Regions from separate parts of the Homo sapiens genome. Here region 2 is linked to region 1. Evidence: promoter capture Hi-C in 16 types of primary human blood cells and fetal thymus (Javierre and others, 2016). All regions are on one chromosome and are shown on one strand. The core of a region is centred on a gene start or on the middle of the fragment in contact, and the rest is flanking DNA. Distances in the headings are between cores, read along the strand shown. Region 1 holds the start of HTR3A (5-hydroxytryptamine receptor 3A). Region 2 overlaps HTR3B (5-hydroxytryptamine receptor 3B).

The links. Contacts are between HindIII fragments. The CHiCAGO score rates a contact against its expected background, and 5 or more counts as called.
Region 2: a contact is called between a fragment that was not itself captured here and the fragment with the promoter of HTR3A in region 1, in 1 of 17 cell types (total B cells). The highest score is 5.4, in total B cells.

Annotation. Positions count from the first base shown.
Region 1 is chr11:113,972,941-113,978,266 of GRCh38, forward strand. It overlaps HTR3A (5-hydroxytryptamine receptor 3A), which reads left to right and starts at 2,168. Exons shown (of 9, transcript NM_000869.6): 1 at 2,168-2,452; 2 at 4,831-4,982. The coding sequence starts at 2,386. RefSeq lists enhancers at 1,731-2,392, 2,393-3,052. The HindIII fragment of the contact is 9,568 bases long and covers 1-5,326 here.
Region 2 is chr11:113,930,616-113,935,941 of GRCh38, forward strand. It overlaps HTR3B (5-hydroxytryptamine receptor 3B), which reads left to right. Exons shown (of 9, transcript NM_006028.5): 3 at 769-813; 4 at 1,143-1,252; 5 at 1,674-1,843; 6 at 2,321-2,478. Among named protein-coding and RNA genes, the nearest start is that of HTR3B, 28 kb to the left of the region's middle. The HindIII fragment of the contact is 3,666 bases long and covers 415-4,080 here.

The DNA.
Region 1 (5,326 bases), core at 918-3,417:
TCGTCTAGAAATTTTCAGATTTCTAAGTGCTAATGGCCACTTAGACGTCAGTGGGAGCTTAAATACTTTGTTGGCCAGGCACAGTGGCTCATGCCTGTAATCCCAGCACTCTGGGAGGCCGAGGCGGGCAGATTGCTTGAGCCCAGGAATTTGAGACCAGCCTGGGCAACATGGCAAAACCCTGTCTCTACTAAAAATACAAAAATTAGCCAGGCATGATAGCATGCCCCTGTAGTCTCAGCTACTTGGGAGGCTGAGGTGGAGGGATCACCTAAGCCAGGGAGATTGAGGTTGCAGTGAGCTGTGATCATGCTACTGCACTCTAGCCTGGGTGATGGAGTGAGATCCTGTTTCAAAAAAAAAAAAAAAAGAAAAAAGAATCTTTGTTGGGCTTGAAGATGCATTTAGGAATCTATAGTGTTCTGCTTGGGCCCCATTCAAGACCTCAGCCTGGTGGCCTAGGAGGCAGCCTGGTTCTTCTTGCCTTGCTTTATCCTGCTGTCAAACCTCAGGTCTGAGGACATTCATTCTGGAATTCTGGGGAGGTCTGGCTCTATAAATTCTCTAAAAGTTTGGGGCCCTCTTTCTATTCACTGCCCTCATATCCATTCCCCTGAGGGAAATGCTTGGAGCTAATTGTCCATGTTTTTCTGGATTGTGCAGTGATGAAGCACATGACTTAAGAGAAGAGTAGCCCAGGCTCCCTGAACTTGACTGCACGTTGCAGAACCACACCCCGCTAACGGCCACAGGAAAGGACCCCAATGGTGAATGGTATAATGCTTTATGCAGATTTCATAATGCACAGGAATAAGAACTGAAAGGATGCAGCCCTGACCAAGGTAGTTTCTTTCTTTTTTTCTTTCTTTTTAACTTACCTACAATTCAGAAAATTCCTCCTTACTGCAGGGTTCCTAGCCTATTCCACACTTAGAGTCAAGTGGAAAATAAATTAAAAAGGAAGAAAATGTTTTGTTGTTGATACTTAACTTGATTGGTACGGGGACATCTACCCAAATGGTGAGCTAGGGTAGGACTCCTTCAAATAAAAATGCACAGTAATTCTTCTTGCAGGCAACTTTAGGGGTACACAGCTGAGGCCTGAGGGATAGATACTTGTCTATTTAACTTGCAATGAAGAAAGAAACACTTCTTTCAAGAAAGACGCTTCCATTTAAGAGGAAGGTATTGAAAATGCTTCCGAGGCCAGGTGTGATTGCTCATGCCTCTAGTCCCTTTGGGGGACTACCAAAAATACAAAAATTAGCCAGGCATGGCTCGCATTTGTAGTCCCAGCTCTTCAAGAGGCTGAGATGGGAGGATCAGCTGAGATGGGGGAGGTTGGGGCTGCAGTGAGCAGTGATTGCGCCACTGCACTCTAGCCTGGGTGACAGAGCGAGACTCTGTCTCAAAAAAAAAAAAAAAAAGAAAGAAAGAAAAGAAAAGAAATGCTTACGAAATGATATCAAGCAAAAAAAGAGGGCACAAAATTATATGTATGTGATATTTACTTCATTGTATACACATTACTGAAGAAAATTATGGAAGAATATATACCAAAACGTTAAGAGTGGCTGTCTCTGAGTCATAAGTTTACAGATGATTTTAATTTTTCTTCATATTTTTCTACAAAGTGCATGTATTATTATTATTTTTACTATATGTATTTATTATGTATGGCAAGAATGCATGAAATAAATATGTATAGTAAAAGTTTATTTTTATTATATATTTTATTATTTTTAATATATATTTTACTATTTAAGTATAACTAATTAGATGAGGACAAAAGGGCAGACCTGTGGTGACTCCAGTTACCCTTCCCGTAACTACAGAGGTGCCCAGTCACCTGCTTGGTTATGTCACCCTGGGGAGTAAAAGAATGGTCTTCCTGCTCCTGCCTGACTCACCCTATCCTGCCCCAGCCCAGTGCCACAGAAACATACTTGCCAAGGGACATCAATGAAAGCAGCAGCGTGGTGCACCTCCCAGGGGTCAGGCTGCACCCTTGTCTCATGGGCTTCTGCAGCCCCTGTCCCCACCTAAGTTACTCCTTGGGGAAACATGGCCAAGCCCCCTGGCTGAATGGGTGGACTGAGCTCCCACAGCATGACATCAGCTAGGGCGGGCTCCCCTCTCAGCTGTCCCCTCCCCTTTCCTCCCGCCTGAAACATGATCCAGCTGAAGGACTGATTGCAGGAAAACTTGGCAGCTCCCCAACCTTGGTGGCCCAGGGAGTGTGAGGCTGCAGCCTCAGAAGGTGTGAGCAGTGGCCACGAGAGGCAGGCTGGCTGGGACATGAGGTTGGCAGAGGGCAGGCAAGCTGGCCCTTGGTGGGCCTCGTCCTGAGCACTCGGAGGCACTCCTATGCTTGGAAAGCTCGCTATGCTGCTGTGGGTCCAGCAGGCGCTGCTCGCCTTGCTCCTCCCCACACTCCTGGCACAGGGAGAAGGTAAGCAGACTTCGGGAAGCAGCAGGACTTGGCTGACCATCTGCTGAGGTGGGGCAGGGGATGCTTCAGTCCTCCGAGGGCTGTGGAGAGGAGGGTGGGGAACAGTGCAGCTGCAGGAAGGTCAGCTATCTTACCACCTATGAGCATGACAGCATTTGAGGCATCATGGTTAAGCTAGAGAGAGTTAGGAATGTTGAGTCCTGGGGTGGGGCAAGAGCGGAGCTTGCAAAGAAGGGAGCAGAGAAGTAGCCTGGCGTATCAGAAATAAAAAGACAGGCACCAGGAGGGGGCTCCTCTCCTTTTTGTCCTTTCCCTAAACTATTTGAATGAAAGCTGCAAGGGACCTTAGAACTCATTGGGTCCACCCTTGCCTGTTATAAATGGGAATGCTGTGGCCCAGAGAGTGGGGAGCGGATAATTCATTCAAGGTCACACAGCTTGTTAGCAGCAGAGTGGGGACCAGAACTAGTCTAGTCCTCTTTCCTCAGCTTCACTGGTTTTGTTGCATGAGTTCGTTCTCTGGGCCTGCGGTTCCCCAAGTTCCTTTCCAGGACTAAACTCCAGTAACGCCCAATTTCTCTCCACATTCGCTACACCCATCTTCTCCTGACTCCCTTGAATGTAGGGTGTTTTAGCCACAAAGGGACCGGCTTCCTTTTGCTGCAGACCATGTTCATTCCCCTCTAGGAGGTTTCTCTCCCTACAGAGCTGGGGTGGAGCATACTGGGGCACAATTAGAGGAAGCCATCCAGGGGTTGGACAGACGTGAAGAGCTCTGGGTAAGATGTCCTTCCTCCCGGGAGCGGTCGTTTGGGAGTGCTCCGTGGGTTAAGCAAACGCAAGCTGTAAGTGATGACTGTGGTCGAGGGCTTCCTTGACTGAGAAGAAACTCTGTCCCTCCTAGCAATGGTCCTTTGCCCCGGGCCTGCTGGGATGAGTTCAGTGCTCTCCAAGCTGGTCAGGATCCCAGTCAATAGGACCCAGGCTCTTGCTGGTGTAGTAAAGACGCACACGGGTCTGCGTTTGAATCTCAGTTCCTCCACTTGCAGAGCAAGGTGCTCACCTTTCTGGTGCTTGGGGATCCTTGTGTGCAAATAGCCACTCTGGTGGACTGTTCTAAAGTTAAATGAAGAATATGTTTATTGATGTTATTCCAAAGGAGACACTTAAAAAATAGTTTGTGTGTGTGTGTGTGTGTGTGTGTGTGTGTGTGTGTGTGTGTTCTCTCTGCTCTTCTCTGTCCTTCTGAGGGAAGCCAGTAGCTTATCAGGGAAAAGGGGGTGAAAGGAGGGGGAATCTGCAGGAGTGATTTGTTGTACAGGTTGCACACTAGATGAGAGAAGACACAGTCTTGTTTAGCAAAAGCCAGGCCTTGCCAGCACCTGGTTAGTGAAAGACCCTGGCTACCTGCCAGCTCCATCTCCCCTTTGCTGCCCGTATGCTGGCCCTCTAGGTTGTACTCCCTTCACCGTCCCATGAATTTTCACTTTTGCATGTCAGGCCACCCTTCTGGAAGTGCTCCTGCTGCTTCCAGTGTGAAAACTGAGCTGTGCATGAAATCTTCATAGAACAGCACCAGGGTCCAGGAGCTGGGCTGTCTCATTACTGGTTTGTCCCCATAGGCCACCTACCCCGGAAGTCGTTTGATTTCTTCTCACTCCCTCCACACCTCGCCCCAACCACCTATCTAAGCCCATCATGTTTGCCCATACAGCAACCCTAGGAGGTGGACTGGGCCAGCCCTCCACCCATAGCTTGTGTGTGCCTGGGGCAGGGTGCGAGGATCCTCTTGGGGTGGCTTTTGCAGGATGTAGAGGAAATGTCAGTTTTCACCAGATGCCCACACTTCCTTCTTTCTTTACCTGTTTCATACTCAAAAAGGAGATGTTGTGTGCAGATGCTGAGGTTTGACCTTGGCTGAGGAAAACCCTGATGCAGACCCTTGGGCTTAGAAATTGTGCACTTGGGGTCATGCTTTCTTGCAACCCTCTTGCTTTTAGTATCATACCCTGAGAGCCAGCTTCCTTGTTGCTCCCCAGAGGCCCTCGCTTAGGCCCCGTGGGCCACCTGCTCCGACCTTCTTAGCCCTCAACCTGATTTGAATCTCAGCTGTCTTGTGCCACTTGCTCTTCCAAGCCAGATCTCTGCTTTCCTGTCAATGAATGCATAGGTCCTTTCTACAAGGTAATACATTTGAATTATGGTAGAAATCTCTGCAGACAAAATGCTCTAGTGGTGAGAATGTCAGTCTGTGTTTAGAATTTTGTGAGGTGGGGATGGTGGGGATACGTCTCTTTTAACAGCTTACAAACCAGGACAAGAGAACCGGGGGAAGTCTTGGGGGGCTGGTGTCTACTTTGAACTGTTCTCCTTCCCAGCCAGGAGGAGCCGAAACACCACCAGGCCCGCTCTGCTGAGGCTGTCGGATTACCTTTTGACCAACTACAGGAAGGGTGTGCGCCCCGTGAGGGACTGGAGGAAGCCAACCACCGTATCCATTGACGTCATTGTCTATGCCATCCTCAACGTGGTGAGGCTCAGCCCCGAGCTGCACACAGGCAGACCTTTTGGGGGTGGGAGAAGGCCATGTGAGACAAGTCACCCCCTATGCAGCTTGTTAGGCATTTGAGAACCCATAGGACCTACGGTCTGGCACCACAGCTCAGGATGGATTGTAGCATCATCTGCACAGCTGCCCAAACCAGAAACCTGGGGTCACCTTGTGGCTGCTGCTCCCACACCCATACAGTGAGGGGGTCACTTCCCACATGTGGTTCTTCATACACTGCATAATGATAACCATCTCTCTATGTCAGCTGTATGAGGATTAAGACGGTCCCATGCATCTCTATGCTCCCAGTGCCTTACACACAT
Region 2 (5,326 bases), core at 998-3,497, 42 kb before region 1:
GTAGCTGGGACCACTAGGTGTGTGCCACCACACCTGGCTAATTTTTAACTTTTTTGTAGAGACAGAATCTCACTGTGTTGCCCAGGCTGGTCTCAAACTCCGGGGCTCAGGCAATCCTCCTGTCTTGGCCTCCAAAAATGTGGAATCACAGGGACGAACCACTGTGCCCAGCCAGGAGGGTTTTTTAAATTGCTGTTTTGGGGGGTCTTTTAAAAATTTTATGGACTCATTGCAGACATGGGAAATCACGTCTATTATATCATTTAAAATATGTTTCATTTATAATAAGCTCATTCAGTCTGTTTTATAAGCAGAGAAATCCAAACATACGGTAACTTAACAGGAATGGCTGCCAATAACAGTTGAGCTAACACTCATTGAAAGATTATGAATAATATCTTGATTACAAATCAAAGCTTGGTCTCATCTTTTTAGCCCAAAATTACTAAGACAACGTAACATTTTTTAGTCTGATTAATGGTAGAGTAACTAATTAGAGTGGGAAAGAGATTAGCAAATCATTCAAGATGTCAAGGGCAGGCAAAGTGCCGTTTTGTCATAGATAATATAGTAAAGCTCATAGCGACAGGTGTGCATAATAAGTAAGAACTGAGAATGCCTAGGTATTGAAGAGTCTAGGTAATGTTTTTAATATCAGCATTATTTGGTTAGATTTGATTTTCTTCTTCTGAATTTCCTTACTGCTGAATTGGCCTTTGATTTATTGACATTCTAAGATTTGGAGTGGATTTTCTTTTTGCCTTGCAGGATGCAGAGAATCAAATATTAAAGACAAGTGTATGGTACCAAGAGGTAAATAATTATGTTTTCTTCTAAATATATTGCACTCCTGATCTGGATCTGCTGCAAAATATAGTTATTTAAGAAATAGGTATTATCTTTGTATTTATAGTTTCTTAGATCTGCAGCAGACCTAATGTATTATAATTCATTTAAGATGTATGGCCCTGGTTTCTGGTTGGGACTACCATCTTTAGGATTCAGATGGGAAGTCCTTTCTCCTAACAGGTAGAACCAAGAGGCTGATAAATTGGATTATTAATCCAAATGCCTCTTTAGTTCTTTAGCGAAGTAGATATTGCCCCATTTTGATAAGTTTTCTTTTTGGCTACTACTAACAGGTCTGGAATGATGAATTTTTATCCTGGAACTCCAGCATGTTTGATGAGATTAGAGAGATCTCCCTACCTCTAAGTGCCATCTGGGCCCCCGATATCATCATCAATGAGTTGTAAGTGTGCCAGTGTGTATTTCTGTGGGGTTTAGACTGCTTGGTATAGTCGGGCCAGTTGCTGCTTACTTTCAGTCAGTGTTGCTCATTTTTGCTTCTCAAGTTGAAGGGGAGCATATTGTTGGGAGTATTCAGGTTAGAAGTGCCATGTGTTGACATTATTTAAGATACAGATCTGGTTACTAATGTTGAGGTTACTCATTATGTCTGTGTTGTTATAGCAGCAAATGAGTTAACTTACGAGGCTGTCACTGAAAAGCTCATCTTTGCCAGGGTGAATCATCTCATGGAAAATGCGATTCTGTTTTGCAGGGCTAGGCTGGTCCTGGACCTCATGGTCACTACCATCTCCTAATCAGCCTATGTTTTGAAATGACCAACATCCTCTCTGTGACAACAAGTTCTCTTGTGTTTCATATAGTGTGGACATTGAAAGATACCCTGACCTTCCCTATGTTTATGTGAACTCATCTGGGACCATTGAGAACTATAAGCCCATCCAGGTGGTCTCTGCGTGCAGTTTAGAGACATATGCTTTTCCATTTGATGTCCAGAATTGCAGCCTGACCTTCAAGAGCATTCTGCATACAGGTAAACCATGAGAGATACCCATTAATGCTAGGTTGGTGCACATAGGTGAAATGATATTATACTATCCTTCAGGTCTATTTTATTCTTGCAGATAATTGGCTATTTAAAAATTGGAATCTCTTCTTGCGGTTTTTTGGCTCCTGCTGTAATCCAGACCAAGTATGATGCTGTAGGCCCCCATAGTTGTTTTGGAAACAGTGTTAGGCCTCTACTGCCATGGATAATATTATAGAAATCGCAGGCAAGCTCCATCATTCTACAGAGAGTGTATTCCAAGCCATAAATTCACAGTTGTTGTTTTTTTATGACTAGAAAGATTTTATTCCACATCCCTACCCCCTAATTCAAATAAGGCCAAGGAGACTGTGCCTATGGGGGCAGGAGAACGAGGAAGGATTCGAATTGGGAGCTGGAAAAGTGGGTGGATGTTGGCATCTCTTTCTCTCTGGGAAAGTCAATTGTTTGTGTTGTTTGCAGTGGAAGACGTAGACCTGGCCTTTCTGAGGAGCCCAGAAGACATTCAGCATGACAAAAAGGCGTTTTTGAATGACAGTGAGTGGGAACTTCTATCTGTGTCCTCCACATACAGCATCCTGCAGAGCAGCGCTGGAGGATTTGCACAGATTCAGTTTAATGTAGGTTCTTTACTACCTGTCCCCGTTGCCCGCTTCTCCCCAGCCTTTGGCCTTCTCTCTTGGGCCAAGGAATTTCTGCTCTATTGCATGTTCTCATTCATTATCACCCAAGAACAGGGACTTCAGCGGGCTCTGAGCATCCACCTGCATTCCAGCATTTCACAGAGCAGAGGTTCAGTGGGAGATGCTGGGCCCCTCCAGAAGATAACAGACACCAGAGGCCTGGTATTCAGACACCAGAGGCCTGAAGCATGCCCTGCAGCAGGAATCCTCCAATCTTTCCACACACACTTACATTATGGCTTCTAATTGCTACTCAGAAAAAACACAGACAAACCCACACACAACAACAACAAATTGGGAAGACTTTCTCATCAACATTATTGTCCTATTTTTTTTTTATTGAGTAAATTATCAACTAATTCCAGATGCAGATGCATAATACGATAATATTATTAACTTGAATATCTTAAGGGATTAGCCAATAAGACCCACAGAGACCACTGGTAGCTTCTGGATCAGAGGGAACAATTAACCCCCTCAAAATTATGATGGGAACCCACACTCCTCCGATGCAGCCCTTGGCTGCATTGTTCATAGGGAAATTTGTCCGGCATGAAACTAGGGGATGGTGGGGTACAGGACAGTGAAGCCCGCTGATTTGTACTCCAGAGGCAGCCATTGTCCCATCTTTGGCCCCCTGGGAAACTGTTTTGACACATGGTCTGCAACAATTTCACACAACTGGTAAACTACATCATTAGTATTCAGCAGTGCATTCTTCTTTTCTGCAAAAAGTCAGCTAGTGGTGGTGGTAGTGAGGGAATGGTGGTCCTTCATGCCAAGTAATGGATTCAGTTGAAAAATAGAAACCACAGGCAGGTCAGGACTGCACACAAGATGAATTATCCTAAAAATATACCTTTGGAATAAGAAGGAAAACTTAGACTAGACTAAGGTGCTCTGGTACAATGGATATGCTAAGGGGAGGTGAAGAAATAAACTATCATTCGCTGAGTGCGGTGGCTCATGCCTGTAATCCCAGAACTCTGGGAGGCCAAGGCAGGCAGATCATTTGAGGTCAGGAGTTCGAGACTAGTCTGGCCAACATGGCAAAACCCCATCTTTACTAAAAATACAAAAACTTGCTGGGTGTAGTGGTGTGTGCATGAGAATCGCTTGAAGCCGGGAGGTGGAGGTTGCAGTGAGCCAAGATCATACCACTGCGCTCCAGCCTGGGTGACACAGGGAGACTCTGTCAAAAGAAAAGAAAGGAAGGAAGGAAGGATGGAAGAAGAAAGAAGGAAAGAAAGAAAAAAAGAAAGAAAGAAAGAAGGAAAGAAAGAAAGAAAAAAGAAAGAAGGAAAGAAAGAAAGAAAAAAGAAAGAAAGAAAGAAACTATTATTGAGGTTACAGGTATCCCTTAATTGGTTAAAGGTGTATACAGCTTTCCAGCAAAGCTCTTGTTAAATCTGGGCCTCTTAGACACAGTTGTGGTTTGAACCTGACTAATGTATAATGCTGGCTAGTATAATCGCAACTCATACCCTCCTGATGGTGGGCTTTGGGCTCTTGCCTAGAATCCTGCTTGGTTTTAAGCAAAGCTTGCATTGTGGCCTGTTTGTCCACTTTTCTTGTAAGGAAAAGGGAAGGAAAGCAAGCAAGCTTTTTTTTTTTTTAAATTTCAATGAGTTTCTTGGCTAGGAGTAAACACCTCATTAATTTTAAAGATATCAGCCCACAAACATTATTAATGCAGCCCGAATAATGGAGAGCATTAAAGGGAAATGTGAAGGAGTAGCACATGCAAGGTGGAACATAGTCACCTACCAAGTGCTCCTGAGAACACTGCACACACCATTACCTACACTGCACGGAGGAGACAAACACAGGAAAGAGATGGGGCAGGTAAACAAGGGCGTGTGCTTGCATACACAGGCACACATGTGCACACACACACACACACACACTCTCTCTCTCTCCATAGAGCAGCTATTATTTGTAGTTACATGTCACTTTCCTTCACCCTAAATGTTAATTCGTCAACAGCAGCTGAAGGTTTTCTATATACCATCTCCATTTTAATTATGATGAACAGAGACAGAAGATTGTCTAATGGAGGGGAGGCTTCCCTGGATCTCAGAGCCATGGTCCAGTTCCTCTGCTCTCCTCACTGCCATGCTTCCCCCCGGGTACGTTTTGAAGTGGAAGTGTGCTGGAGGCAGGTGCAATTTGATTTCATGCTCTTGGAACTTTTCCATGGGTCCTTTTGCCCCGGGGGTGGACGTGGGTTATCTAGCAGGGCTGGCCTCTGCCCTGGTCCTCAGGAGCAGAGTAGGGAGAGAATCCTGAGTAGAGTCACAGATCATATTTGGTGGGACAGGAGGCCAGACTCAGGAGCAATTCTGCAGCTTTAGAAAGACTAAAAGTGGATTCAGTGACGATCACAGTTTTCTGCCTCCCAACCTCGCTCAGCCTCCATGCATTTCTGCTCTGTGCACAGAGCCTAGGCTCATTCTCTTACTCCATACCAGACATCCCACTCTGAATTTAGCAACCAAGGCACCTGGCTTTCCTTCAACAGCCCTTGGCCAGTGATGTGAAATTCAGAGCCTGATTCTATTATGCCAACACTGGGCCTGCCAGGGTCCTGACAGCAAAGGACCATCTCCTCTTAATCTACTCGCCGGCTGTGTCTCAGTCCAGGCTGCCCAGCGGGAGGTTGGGGACGGGTAGGGAAGTCAGGAGAAGCAATAATCTATTCTAAATTCATCCTTGCCCTTGGCCTGAGGTACACTGCTGCCATTTATACTAAATCAAGTGCTCCGGATGCCCCATGAGTTTCAGC